3 separate regions of the Homo sapiens genome follow, and regions 1 and 2 are each linked to region 3. The links are contacts of gene promoters, found by promoter capture Hi-C in blood cells and fetal thymus (Javierre and others, 2016). All regions are on one chromosome and are shown on one strand. The core of a region is centred on a gene start or on the middle of the fragment in contact, and the rest is flanking DNA. Distances in the headings are between cores, read along the strand shown. Region 1 holds the start of LINC02696 (long intergenic non-protein coding RNA 2696). Region 2 has its middle 17 kb from the start of LINC02696. Region 3 holds the start of CD82 (CD82 molecule).

Evidence for each region. Contacts are between HindIII fragments. The CHiCAGO score rates a contact against its expected background, and 5 or more counts as called.
Region 1: a fragment that was not itself captured here is called in contact with the fragment with the promoter of CD82 in region 3 in 3 of 17 cell types (total CD4 T cells, naive CD8 T cells and non-activated CD4 T cells); the score reaches 5.6 in total CD4 T cells.
Region 2: a contact is called between a fragment that was not itself captured here and the fragment with the promoter of CD82 in region 3, in 1 of 17 cell types (total B cells). The highest score is 6.9, in total B cells.

Annotation. Positions count from the first base shown.
Region 1 is chr11:45,355,310-45,360,105 of GRCh38, forward strand. It overlaps LINC02696 (long intergenic non-protein coding RNA 2696), which reads left to right and starts at 62. Exons shown (of 2, transcript NR_120558.1): 1 at 62-293; 2 at 1,087-1,348. The HindIII fragment of the contact is 6,359 bases long and covers 1-4,723 here.
Region 2 is chr11:45,336,089-45,341,063 of GRCh38, forward strand. No RefSeq gene overlaps it. Among named protein-coding and RNA genes, the nearest start is that of LINC02696, 17 kb to the right of the region's middle. RefSeq lists an enhancer at 3,970-4,264. The HindIII fragment of the contact is 3,103 bases long and covers 1-2,817 here.
Region 3 is chr11:44,563,744-44,568,459 of GRCh38, forward strand. It overlaps CD82 (CD82 molecule), which reads left to right and starts at 1,920. Exons shown (of 10, transcript NM_002231.4): 1 at 1,920-1,993. RefSeq lists a silencer at 1,419-2,018 and enhancers at 1,933-2,433, 2,939-3,008. The HindIII fragment of the contact is 9,090 bases long and covers 1-4,716 here.

The sequences.
Region 1 (4,796 bases), core at 294-2,793, 790 kb after region 3:
AAAGGAGAGGAGGCGGAGACGGTTAGTCTAGCCTCTCTGTGGGGCCTCTCTGCTGGTACCCAGATGCTGAGCGCTGAAATTCTCATCCGCCACACACAACATGGCGGCTTCCTGGACCCGCGCCCAATTTTCGCTTCCGGGATGGAAGCTACGTCATTTCCCCCTCTGTTGCCCTAGCGCCCCTTGGAAGCCAAGAATATGAGGAAGTCTTCTTCCTTCGCGCCTTCTTCTTCCTTACGCTCCAGGGCAGCCTGACAGAGCCGCTCGAAGGCTCTGCTGGCCGCGGCTAGCCGGTGAGGAGGGTGGGGGGAGGGGCCGTCCCGCGTGTGGGGGAGTCTGAAGGCGACCAACGAGAGGGAGGGCCGGAGCGGGGAGGTGGCTCGGAGGCATGTCCAGTAAATTGGGGATGAAAATCCTCCCAGGAACCCGATTATTAATGGGTTGAGGGAAGTGGCAGGTGCAGCGGTTGCGCAAAGACAATGATGCTTAGTAGCCAGGACTTCATGGCCACAAAATTTGTGTGTAGAGAGGGCCACAGCAGCCTGAAAACCATTTTCGTCCCCTTTTAGGTTTACCCATTCCACTGGACCCAGCCACCACCCACTCCTGCTGTCTGGTAAACTTTCCTCCTGTTTCTGGGGCCATGTCTGGCATGAAGAGTTTTTACTGAATAGTTTTCATTGATCGCAGGCCAGTTCTCTCTTCTCACCCCTTTATTGAAGTGACAGTGAAAATCTAAGTGAGAAAGCACTGTTACAGGGGCTGAAAAGGCTACAGGAGACCAGAGCCATTGACTTTTATTTTTAAAATGAAGATCTCTTTTACTTGAAGGAACTTAAGAATTTTGGCATTCAAATAGGGGCTGGAAGACTTGAAAGCAGTAGAAATTTCACCACAGGTGATAGGAAAGGATGATCACGAAATGAATATCTCCTGACTTGCACACCTAGTGAGCAGAGCCAGGAAGGACCTCCTTCACCTTAGCATTTGGAACAGGCTGCAAAGTTCATTCTTCCTCATAGCAGCCCCTGCATTCAGTTTGGTTTAGTTGTTTTATGTGGTTTCTAGCCTGATTTTTTTTTTCAGGGTGCAGCAGAAGTCTCAGGTAGCTGAGAAGTTCATGGAATCTTCTTATTTGCTACACCTTTCACTACTGCTTGTGATATAGTGCAGGGTTGGGATGTGCAGACATTTCTCAAGTGCACTGTGTACCTACACAGCATGCTGCAATTTGGCTACTGAAGTCAAGAGAAACTGGTTTGAACAACTACTGAGTGTAACATAGGAAGCGCATTTCATTTGATAACAGGAACACAGCTTTTGTGCTAATAAAATGCTTTGAAAATTAGTGTGTGGTCTTTAGTAATTAGCATATACATTTTAGTTATCCATTGGTTCATAACAAACGGACTAAATAGGTACCCCACTGAGTCATTTATCTAAATGAAAAGTTTGGTTAAATTGTAGTTGTAGGCATTGATCAAAGCTAATGGGAAAAAGAGATTAAGATGAAAATCATGGGATTAAATTTTTAATTAGTTTGCCCCTTGGACCGTTGCTTGGTATGACATGGAGATTGATTGGCTACTTATGCCTGCCTGGGAAGATATGGCTCTGCTACCAAACCTCTGAACGTAAGAGTGTTTTGCAAAAAAACTGAATATTTTATTCAGTAATTTTTCACTTTATTCCTGCTTAACAAGGAATTGAAAAGGAAGGCAAGGTCTTGGATCTCATAGTTCTTGGTATAGTGATAGATATAAAGTATGAGATGGGGGCTTCAGTGGGTTCATTAATAAATATCTCAAATTAACATGTCTAAGTCAAACTCTTCCTTTCCTGCCCCCAATCTCTTCCTCTCCCAGGGCTCCTTATGTCAACTAATGGTGCCATCATTAGTGCACTCAAAGCAAAAACCTGGGAACAATCTTGATTCCCTCTTTCATTCCCCACAGCTCACCCATCAACAAATTCGATCCGCTTTTATTCTAAAATATATCCTAAATCCATTCACTGTTCTTATCTCCACCACCCTAACCCAGGCATCATCATCCTTTACCTGGTTAACTGCAAGATCCTTTTCATTTAACTTCCCTGCTTCTAATCTTCTGACCCATTTTCACCATCCCAGTCCATTCACCACACAGTAGCAGCCAAAATATTTGTTTAAAATGTAAGTTAGATTCTATCACTTTTGTGTTTAGAATTATTGTCTTCCCCCACTAATTACTGTGCCCTATGTGATCTGGACTCAATCTGGTACCACTCCCTACCCCTTCACTCACTATAATCCAGACATACTATCTTTCTTTCTTCAACCTGCCAAGTTTTATCCTGCCTTAGGGTCCTTGCACTAGCTGTTCCCTTTGCTGGAACCCTCTTCACCCAGTTATTGCAGAGCTGGCCCTCTCTTGTTTAGAGCTGAATTTCAATGTGACCTCTTCAAATAAGTCCTCCCTTGACCACCCAAACTCATGTACCCCCTTGTTACTCTCTGTCACGTCATCCTGATTCAGTTTCACCACAACACTCATCATTACTGCTATTTTCTTGTATCTTCCTTTGTTTATTGACTGTCTCCTCCCATTAATATGTAAGCTCCCTGAAAATAAACATCTTGTCTATATTGTATGACTGTATCCCCAGAACTTCAAATAGTCTGTGACATATGAATGAATGAATGAATGAATGTACGAATGGATTCTGCTTCCCCAAAGCTGCTGCCATCTCATCTCAGGTACATTGAAACAGGAAGGCTGGTAAAGGCCAGGGGGTCAAATGCTACATAGAGTGGAGCCTGAAGCACAAGATGTGGGCAAAGACACAGTGGAGAGGGGCAAGAAAAGCATTTGGGATGGAGGGCAGAGGGTCTGGGAAGGAACATGGAAATGATATAGAACAACTCTACAGATATGTCCTAGACATCTTAAGACTTGTACAAGCATGCGTGTGCCCGCACATACACACATACCAGCTTGAAGAATCTTGTCTCAGCACATGCTCTGTACTTGAGTCTTAGAGAACACTTTTCTTGGTAGAGATGTTTAGGCTTCAGCATTAAGGAGTCTGATTCAGAGGTCTAGGTAGGGCCCATGTGTCTGTGACTGCATAATACTTGTAAACTGGTCTCATTCTTGGTCAGGACAATAAGGCTGCAGTAAATCATAGCAGCTGGGAGAAAGTAGTGTGGTATCCTGCAGTGGTTCTGTTCACCACCACATGGGCAGAGCATGAGCAACTTTCCTTTCCTGGGCCCTCGTTCTGCTCAGATACAAAGTGAAGGCTTACTTGGGCTCCTGTGCAACTTTAAAAGTGAAACTTAACTGAAATTGGGCAGGTGGGCTGCACTTCTTCTAAAAAGTAAGAGGCCCACTTTTTAGAAAATATTAAACCTTGGATTACACCTCAGTTTGGCAGTTACATGACACATTATTTCTAAAGAGCCATCTAATTTTATGCCATCTAATGTTTATATTGATAACTGATGAAAATACAGGAGCTTATTATGCCACTGAAACTACGATGAAGTGGCTCAAATTTATTCTCTCACTGTAGGTTGGATTTGAGGGGATAAGGATAAGAGAGAAAATACTATTGGTGCTCAGGTTAAAAAAAGAAAAAGAAAAAAATGGAGCTTAGACTTTAATCTTTTCATAAATCTTCCTCATCCCCAATTGTTCAGCCAAATTCAGAAGGATTAGCTTTCCATCTTCCATGAACCTTTTGGTTGGATCTTTTGTCAATCTTTTTCCCCTTTGAGGCTACCTCGATGTTTAACAAAAAAAAAAAAAAAAGAACTACAAACTTCATTCAGATCCAGTTCAGGGTCCTACATAGCATTTAGTTTTTATGTCTTCTCCAATCTGTGATGGTTCCTCATTATTTCCTTGTCTTTCGTGACCTTAACACTTTTTAAGAGTACTGCTCAGTTATTTTTTAGATTGTTACTCAGTTTGGATTTGTCCAGTATTTTCTCATGATTAGACTGGGGTTTTGAAGTTTCTCCATGCATCATACTGGAGTACATAATATCAATATGTCTTATTATTGGTGCTGTTAATAAGACACATTGCTGTCGATGACATCTGATCACTGATTAAGGTGGCATCTGTCTGTTTTTTCCACTGCAAAGAGGAGAATTCCATTTGTGTTAATATATATTTGGAGAGAGATGCTGTGAGGTTACCTTGGCCTTATTTGTAACCAGATTTTCCTTACATGTGTGTTGGGATGGAGAGGTGATGGGAGGTGGGATGGGGTGGACTGTGTGATCTGTTCAGTCTGTACATCCCAAGTACAGATCAGAGCTTGCTATGATTATGCTGCACAAAGAGGTGAAGAAACCTTTGCACTATAATAAATAGCTGGGGCTACATCTTGATATGCATAAACGAAAATGTGATATGGCATGTTTTTATTGTGTGTGTGTATGTGTGTGTGTGTGGAGGTGTGTGTTGTTCATTGAATCGAGTTCTTCTTATCCATGAGTTCATTATTTCTTAATAAAGGGTAACATTTTTTGAGTGTCTACAATGTTCCAAGCACTGTACTAGGCTCTGCATCTCTTATCTCAGTTCAACACTGTAAAGTGGACATCATTAGATGTTTTACAGATAAGGATACCAAGGCTCATGGAAGTAAGTTACTCAAAGGCAAGTGGCAGAACTGAAACTTGAACCCAGGCTCGTCTGACTCAGAAGTTTGTGCTACTTCCAAAGCACCAAGCTTGCTTTCCTACTGTGCGCCAGGCCCTGCAGTTAGTGCTAGGATGCAGAAGTATGAGATAGTGTTCAAGA
Region 2 (4,975 bases), core at 16-2,515, 770 kb after region 3:
GTGAACGCGCACATTACTCTCCCCTGGGAGTGCAAAACTCAATCCTGCCAACTCAAGGTAAACTGTCACTGTCAGGTGCTCTCAAGCTCTGTCAATTAAGGCTCCTTCCCCTCTGTCCTCTCCAGGCATTGGTGGTGTGAGGGGCACTCCCCTTCCCCTCATCTAGTTCCCTCCTACGGAGCATCCGAGGTTGATGTAATTTGCCAGGCCTGTGTATTGATGTCTGATATCATCTGCATTCACTGCTGTCACAGCCACTGCCACTCTGTCTTCCCTCATCAGGTACCTAAGCGTCTGCACCCCCTGCGTCCCATTGCTAGGCCTCTCCAGGTTCACCCACCAGCTTTCTGCCATTTCTATCCCTCCTTGAGGATTTGGGGATGTGAGTGTTTGAGGCCCTCTCATTAACAGGTCCATCACAGGAGTCCTCACCTGGCACAGTGTGGTGGCACAGTGTCCACCACAGCTTTTCCTGGGCAGAGAGGCGCAGGTCTCCTCTGCTTCACTGTCTCCCACCCACCCGCATCCCAGGCTTTCTCACAGGTCCCTGGCATCTGTGGGTTCTAGTTCCAACCCTTCGATCCTCCTTCCACCTCCCAAAACTGAACTTTTGTCTCCTTTTGAGTAGGAACTTTATTCATTTACTATTGAATATTCTTTCCTACTCTATGGTGTGGTATAAAATCTATGCTGTCAGTCCCCCAGACTACCTTTTTTACCTTAAAAAACATGTTTTCTTCTCAAGAACAAAGTCCTGGCTTTTTCTAAATGTATTCAAGAATTTCTTCACCAAATATTGTTGGAACACTTGCTGGGGGGGGGCAGACACTCTCTGGGTTGTACGGACAGACAGACAGTTGCCTTCCAGTTGGGGAGATGGGCGATAATCATATGCAAAAGTCAATTGCCTAATTTCTTTTTTTTTTTTTTTTTTTTGAGACAGAGTCTCGCTCTGCCGCCCAGGCTGTAGTGCAGTGGCGCTATCTCGGCTCACTACAAGCTCCGCCTCCCGGGTTCATGCCATTCTCCTGCCTCAGCCTCCTGAGTAGCTGGGACTACAGGTGCCCGCCAACACGCCTGGCTAATTTTTTGTATTTTTTTTAGTAGAGACAGGGTTTCACCGTGTTAGCCAGGATGGTCTTGATCTCCTGACCTCGTGATCTGCCCGCCTTGGCCTCCCAAAGTGCTGGGATTACAGACGGCCGTCAATTGCCTAATTCTTTTCTTTCTTTTCTTTTTTTTTTTTTTTTTTTTTTTGAGACAGGGTCTCACTCCTTCACCCAGGCTGGAGTACAGGGAATGGCATCATCATATAGTTCACTCATAGCCTTGAACTCCTGGGCTCAAGCCATCCTCCTCCCTCAGCCTCCCAATCAGCTAGGACTACCTGTAGGTACGTGCCACCACACTTGGATAACTTTTATTTTATTTTATTTTATCTTATTTTATTTTATATTGTGTAGAGATGGGGTCTTGTTCTGTTGCCCAGGCTGGTCTCAAACTCCTAGCCTCAAGTGATTCTTTAGCCTTGGCCTCCCAAAGTGCTGGTATTACAGGTGTGAGCTGTGGTGCCCAGCCACCTATTTATTTTCAATAGAGCGAATGCTTTGCTGGAGTATTAAGTATAAACTATACTTTATATTCAATATTCCAGCAAAGTATTTTATATTGAGTATAAAATGCTGAGTATCAATTTTATATTGAGTATAAAAAGGGGTAAAGTGACAGAGCGCTGGGCAGTGGGAAGGGGTAGTTATGAAACAGACTCACTGTGCGCTAGTTACCACTTCAACCCACTTGATCTTGGGTTGCACGTTCACTACTTGCCCAAGTTCTGTGAAACAGAACACTGAAATACACAAGTTACATGAGGAAATACACAAGTTATTACTTATAGATAGTCAGCAAGGGACAGCAGCAGCCTAGAATTCATGAGTATCAGTCTCCAAGCCTCAGGAAAGCTGCCCAGATGGAGTCTTGTCTGCACATGCCCCACTTGCACCACAGCTGCGGAGCCCTGAAGGCAACCAGCCCTGGGTTTTAGACCACGGGGTACAGGACTTGCTGGGTCAACGCATTGAAGGACACCTTGTTTCTAATAGTGACTGAAGCAGAGCCTGGCCTGCTCAGACCAGTCCCGCCCTATTCCAGATGTTGCATTTCCAGCACATTACACAGCGATTCTTGGGAGCTATGACAGAAAAGAGGGAGAACTGGGTCGGTCCACAGCCATCCAGAGAATGGTCTTGCAGTAGTGCTGCATTGAGTCAGATATCCAGGAAGGCCTGGTAGACATTTGAACCCCAATCTAAGTGCCAAGAAGAATCCCCCGGAGAGGGATCAGGTCAATGCCTCCAAATGGAACAGCAAGAGCAAGAGCCCCGAGAAAGAAATGAGCTTGGCCTTGGTCACAGATAAGAAAGAAGGCCAGCGGGTTTATTGAATGGTGAAAAGAGAGTGAGCAAAGATGACCTCAATGGGTCACTGGGCCAGATTTCGCAGCACCCTTTTAGCATGCATGGAAGCTGTGGATTGTTTTGTTAAACCCTAGAAGATTGAAGTAGAGAAGTTATTTGCATTTTAAGAAAATCATTTTAATTATAGAAAAATGGTTGATTATAAGAGGGCAAAAAAGCATGGGCGAGCAGGGAAAAGGTAACTCTAGGAGGCCACACGGGTGATGAGGGTAGCCCGAACTTAGAGGGTAAAGATGGTGAGATGTGGACCATTCTGGATACATTGTAGGGGAAGGATTGAAGGGACTGCTGCTGGGCTGATTAGGCGGTGGTGAGATGCAGAGGCAGGAGAGGCTGAGGAAGCTTAAACCCCTGCATACTGTCTGGAATGACTGAGCCAGTTCTACAGAAGTGGCAACACTTAGACATTAGCCCAAATGCACTTCCTATATAAAAGCCCTGTGTGTGCTTCCTGTGTGCTGTGTGTGTGCTCTTCACATGCGTGTGTGTGTGTGTTTTTCAGCTAGCAGATTCACCTACTCTCATCCTCTCTCACTAGAATGTTCCAGTGCCCAGCAGGTTGAGCAGGGAGCAGAGGGGTGGAGTAGTACTCATCTCTGGCCAAATCGGCACAGGCTCACCCATTACACTGTTTACTAACATCTGCACTTACAGGGTCCTTGCCATGTGCCACATGCTGTTCAAAGTGGCCTACCAATATTAACACACGTAATCCTCAGAACAGCCCTAGGAAATAAGTGCTATTATAAATCCTCATTTTACAGGTAGGGAAACTGAGATTCCAAAAGATGAGGTGGGAGGCCGAAGGTCACATAGCTCATAGGCAGCAGAGACAGGATTTGAACCCAGGGTATATGATGTCAGAGGCCAGGCTTATCAATCACCTATTCCAGGGATGGCAAGGGAATACAGGCAGGAAAGAAAACCACCTAGCATGTCTTCTTTTCAATGCCTCTAAATGTGAAAGCACTTAGCAAAGTGCTGGCACATAGTAGGTGCTCAATGCATAACAATAATACATTTTATTAATATCCAGGGACCAGGCAGGTTATGTCCCTCCTGTGCACCCATGCCCTGTGGGAGGCAGAATATGCGAGTTGGAAAAAAATTGATCCACATCAGATGCCAAGCCGTCAAAAATAACTGGCAGGAGAGGAGAGACCAGGCAGAGCATGTATCTCTGATTCCCTTCGCTTGTTGTCACACTATTACAGTTAAAGAGTGAACACTTCACAAGAAAAAGAGCATACGTCTGCCCACGGGTTTCTAGATTTACATCCTTTTCACTTATTGGAAAGAGAAAAAAAATAGGACCAGATGTTAAAAGCATGAAAAAAAATTAAAAAGCAAGAAATTTGAGGGGGAGGGGAATCAGACTGGCAGCTCCATGGGAACCGAAACATGCAAATGACGTGCAGCCTGTTTTAATGATCTGACACCCCCGAACTGGAATTGATTACTGCTGTTGGGAGGAGAAAATGGATCGGCAAAGTGTGATCATGCAAACTTCAGAGGGATATTCAATCCCAAACACCGAAGTGAGGGAAGGGCTGGGAGATGCCCTCGTGGGAGAGAAAGCCGGCCACGCCTTCCAGTTCCAGCCTCTCGTTGATAGCCTTGTAATGACAACACGCGCCACCAGGGGGCGACCAACGTCTCGCACCAGGAAGACGGGGCTGTAGGGAGGGGCGTGGCAAAATGAGAGGCACAGGGCTGGCCCCATTCAGAGGAAGGAGAAGAGAAATCCAGCCACACCGGAGGGGCAGCTCCGGACCCGCTCAGGCTGCCCCAAGCGGCGCTCCCTTCACTCAGCAGGACTTGAGCAAGGCCAGCTGGAGTGGAAACCAAGCCTTGGAAGAGGAACCGTAAAAAAAGAACCTTGCTGGGCCAGAATTAGACACTTCAACTCAGCGTCCCCAGAAGGGAATTTTTGATCAGTAATTGCTGCCCATGAGAATTGGTTTTCTGGGAATGACAGGCTCATTAAGGAGGGAATAGAGACGATGTCCTAAATCAAGGGTCGGCAAACTTATCTGTAAAGGGACAGCTAGCACATATTTTATGCTTTGCGGGTTCTCAGGCCCTGTTGAAACTGCTGAAATAGCGTGCAGTTAGCCACAGACGATCTGTAAATGAATAAGCATGTCTGTGTTCCACTAAAAGTTTATTTATGGACAATAAAATTTGAATTTCCCTGTTAAAAGAATAAAAAGACAAGCCACAGACTGGGGAAAAAATAGTTGCAAAGCACGTTGGATAAAGAATTGGTATCTAAAACATACAAAGAAGCCTTAAAACTCAACGATAAGAAAACAAACAACCCAATTAAAAATGAGCAAAAGATCTGGACAGACACCTCACCAAAGAAGATATATAGATGGGAATTAACTATATGAAAAGATGCTCAACATTGTTTGTCATTGCAAATTAATTGCAAATTAAAAGCAACAATAAGAAACATTCTATGCCTAAAATCCAAAACGCTGACAAAACCGAAT
Region 3 (4,716 bases), core at 670-3,169:
TCAAAGTGTGGTCCCCGGACCAGCATCCACATCATCTAGGAGCTTGTTAGGATCTTAACCACTTGCAGGATAGAGGGTGTCTCTCTGCGGGTATGACACACTGCTGGGTTTAAAGGATTCTCCAGCCTCACTTTTCTGACTTGGTGTGGGAATGCTATGAAGGAGACTTTTTGCTGAAAAGAGAACATTTTCTGAGCATGTACGGCATTCAAGCGGTGGGCCAAATACTTTATGAATGCTGTCACATGTAATCTTCAACAGCTACCATCAAGATCGGTATGATTGTTATGGCTCATTTTATTATTATTCCCTGTTTAAGGGCTCATCCCAGAGGTTAAGTATCTTGCCTTGTCCTGGGTTTAAAACGCAACCAGGAAGCTACCTAGGTCTGTGTGATTCTCAGACCACCCTGACTTCTTTACAGTTTGCTCAACAGTGGTTCATGCTTGAATGTGATTCAGAATCACCTGGAGGCCTTATTAAAACCAATTGTCCCACAGTTTTCCATTCAGTAAGTTGGGATGGGGCTTCAAAATACGCACTCCTAACAAGTTCCCAGATGATGTTGCTCCTGGTTCAAGGACCACGCTGTGAGAACTACAGTGCTGGGCTGGGATCCAGCTCCCGCCCTTACTCCACTCGTACAAAGCGCTCATAATCATACCCTCCCACAACGGTGTGTTGTGAGAGGACATTGTGATAATGGAAGTGAAAGAGCTTTGTCAGCTGCACAGGTGAATGCCCCTGGTCATTAACCAGGTAATCTGCCTGAGGCTAGTCCTCTGGAGCCTGGGAGGGCAGAGGGCTGGGACGCAGGGTGGGCACCGCAGCCACCTAGAGAGCTCTTGCAGCCCACCTCAATTTTGGGCCACTTTTTCTTCAGGGAGAAAGCCAGCTTTGAGGGCTTAGGCCCACAGCCCCTCCTGCCACTATTCTCATCAACCCACACCTCCTCCCTCACCTCAGGCAGCTGCTGGGCACTGCCCCAGCACTGGTTGTTCTGGGCTACTTCCCCAGGGGCCAGTCCAGGCAAGCTGGGGCAGCTCAAGCCTGTGACTCAGGACCTGAGGCTGGATCCCGCTCACGCCCGCCTCCATGAGATTCAGAGCCCTCGACTTCCCTTCTCTGAGCCTTAAACTGCGCATTAGTAAAATAGGCGCAACGAGAGTACCCATGAGTTGTGGGAATTCAAGGGCTAGAACTGTATTCAGCGCTTGGCATAGAGCCTGGCCCCTGGCAAGGATTCAATCAATGGTAGTCAGTATTTTCAAAAAGTTCCTGGGCCCAGGCCGCCTCCTGATAGAGGCCCCGACTTAGGACACAAACCGCTCCCACGCCGTTCCCCGGCGGCACCCGGATACACCCGCCCTGGAATGCCAGCGTGGGGGCCCCAGGGCTACCCGCCCGAGATGAGAGGGGCAGGGCAGGGCAGGATTAGGAAGGCGCTGAGCCCAGGCTGGTGCGGGGAGGGGCGTGGCCTCACCCTACTAGGGCCGGGGGATGGGGTGGGCTCGAAGGAGAAAGTGAAGGAGGCGGGGGCGCTGGGAGGGCCCGGGAGGAGACCGGGAGGACGAGGTAGGCGGGAGCTGGGCGGGACCGTTAGGCAGCGCCGTGAGTGGACAGGGCTGGAGCGGGGCGGGCTTAATCCCCAGTGTAACCTGGGGGCGGGGCTGCCGGGATAGAGGAGAGACTCCGTAGCGGGGCGGGGCCTCAGCTCCAGCTGGGCCCGGGGGCGAGGCTGGTTGGGGTACGGCCATAGTGGGCGGGGCCTGGCCGGCGGGAGCGCACCGCCTTCCCAAAGGGCTCGGGGGCGGGGCCGGCGGAGGGGGCGTGTCTTCTGGGGGCGGGGCCTGCCGAGTCCGCGGCGTTCCCCGGCTGCAGCCGGGAGGGGGCCGAGGAGTGACTGAGCCCCGGGCTGTGCAGTCCGACGCCGACTGAGGCACGAGCGGGTGACGCTGGGCCTGCAGCGCGGAGCAGAAAGCAGAACCCGCAGGTGAGCAAGGGGGCAGCGGGCCGGGGTAGCCTGCCGGACAACCATAGGCAAAGTTAGTTTTAGCCCCCGCTTCTGCGGTCCGGCTCGGACAACTTTCCTCGGAACTAGTGACAGGTCGGGGCAGCTGGTGGGTGAAAAGGAGCTTTAGCCACCAGTCCTGAACCCCCAGTTCTCACACTCGGCCGTGCACAGCTGCGTGATCCTGGGTCCGTCCCTCTACCTGGCTCTGGACCTCCCGGGTTCCAGCAGGAGGAAGTGAACCAGGTGAATTCCACGCTCCCGTTGCCCTTTCTCACTTAAAACGCCGGAAGGTGAGAGCTGGCAGGTGAGAGCAGGCTGCAGGTCGCCACAGGTGTTCCCATCGCGTTGCCCTCTGCAGTTTCTCTCCCTGCAAAATGGGACTGAGAGAAGCGAATTGCTTTAAAGAGTGCACTGTTTCCTCGGTTGGGGCTCGAACCCACCAACCCTGGGGAAGAGGAGGCCAAAGCAGGGAGGTTCCATTTCCCGCCTCACCTGCTTCCCACCAATTCTAACAGTTCAACTGAGCCGGACCCCCTAAGACTTCAAGTTGGAAACTCAGTGGGGCTTTTCCAGGTGAGCTGGCCTGAGCAGGAGGTTGGAAACTGGGGAACAGTTCTTACACTGGTGAGTGGGGAAGAGAAGGGAAAACCCCACCAATCCTTGGGCCCAGGGTCAAGCCCAGGGCCCCAGGGGCCCTTGAAGCATACCCGGGGTTAATTTCTTGGCTGACGGGTTCTGTTCCTGGAGGTGGTGGGTGCTCTGTGCTGGGCCCCAGTAGCGGGGCAGCATAGTTCTGTGGTCAAGGCTTGGGCTTTGGGATCAAACTGATTTGGATTCCATTCCCCCTCCAAACTTCAGTTTCCTCACCTGTAAAATGGGGATAATGACAATATCCAATAGCAGGAGCAAGCACTAAATAGAATAATGTGTATACACTACTTAGCAAGGTGCCAGGAAACCAGTGAGACCTCCCTCTGTGACAGCTGCTTTGATGCGGGTGGGCAGGTGATGGGCTTGCTTCCTATGGGGAATGAGCCTTTTTTTTTTCTTGGAGAGATGGGGTTGGCTACAGCCCCTCCTGACCTTGTGAAAGCCAGAAATTGCCACCTGCCACCAACATCACTCTATTTGAGGGATGAGGACTGTGTCATCTGGAACAAAGAGTGGCTGAGTTTTCTGTAATGTTGCTTGAGGTTGGTAAGTGTTGAGTTAAATAAGTCTAAAAATGTTTACTGAGCACCTACTATATGCTAGAGAGAGCTAGAGGATACAGAGGTGAACTAGCCAGGCCTGAGTTGCTGACAATGAGGGCTCCCCCATCCCTACCATGTCCCTGTAGAGAGGATCAGTCACACCCAGGGCTTATAACCAGATGAGATTTCATGGGTCTGTTCTGCCCTGGTGGCTGGAATCCAGCTATACCATTGCACACTTGGCTTGGGATGGGGGCGAGGGGCAATGTGGGCACCCGATATCTAAGCAGGGTTGGACACTGAAGGACGCTGAAGGTGCTGCATTATATTGGCTCCCTGCATCTTCTGGGAGATAAGCTGTACAGTATGGAACAAACTGGAAAGTGCTGTGGGACAGAGACGGACTGGCGGCTGCGCTGTGTGCAGGAGACTGTGTGTGTATGTAGGGCAGGGGGAGGTGTTCAGAAGAGTGAGACACTTGAGAAGCCAGGGCAGGGGGTGGGGGTAAGGAGGCTTCCTGGAGGGGGTGAGACTTGAATAGGACTTTCTCTCTGGGCTCCTGGTCCTGGTTTGGCTTGGATCAACATGGGACCACAGTCTCTTCAAGCACTGAAGTGGCATAAATTGGAGTTTGGTATGGTGGGGAGGGAGAGGGTCTGGTAGGTGGTGCCTGAGGTGGGGAGGAGGAGACGTTCATTTCAACAGAGCCTACCTAGTGAGCCTTAATGGAAAGCCCTCCCCACCACCACCCCCACTTCCTGCTCGATGAATGACAAGCGACCACATAAGGCCTGCACCCTCAGGTTGCTTACCATCCGGGAAGGGGCTTACACAAGAATACCAGGGACTCTGATGGAAGATAAATGAAAAAAGGATTAGAGGGATCTTCAGGGCCTTACAGACTGGGAAGATTTCGGCAGCCAGAATGAAGATAGTGTCTTGAGGAGAGGAAAATGCCTAGGCAGAGGCAGGGAGGTCAACCTGTCCTGAGAATTCTCGAGAAACCTCTAGGTTGCTCATTCTGGCTGAAGTTTGGGAACGTGTGGGGATATGCAGTGGGAATAGTAGGTGGGATCAGCTTACGGAGGGCCTTGAATGACAGGATAAGAACTTTGGATCTGATTTGCAGAAAGTGGGAGCCACTGAAGGTTTCTGAGGAGAGGAGTGACACAACAGAGCAGCACTTTAGGAAAGTCAGTCTGTACCAGATGTGCTGGGGTGGAGGATCCAGCGGTCAAGGGATAATGAACCAATGGCTGCAGTGACTGGGAAGAAGGGGTCTGGGTGGCTTTGGGGATGTCTGCAACTGGGAGTGAAGGAAGAGACACCAGCCACAGGGAGAGCAAAGGCACCATTGGAGGGGTGGGAGGGGACTGTTCCAGCACATTTGCACTTCTTTCTCCTCCCTATCCTGTCTGGTACATAGCAGGGTCTCAGGAAGGTGGCTGGATTGGGTGAGTGGCGGGGTTGCTGGGAGGGTGATGAATGCTACAGAGGGGTTTGCCCATG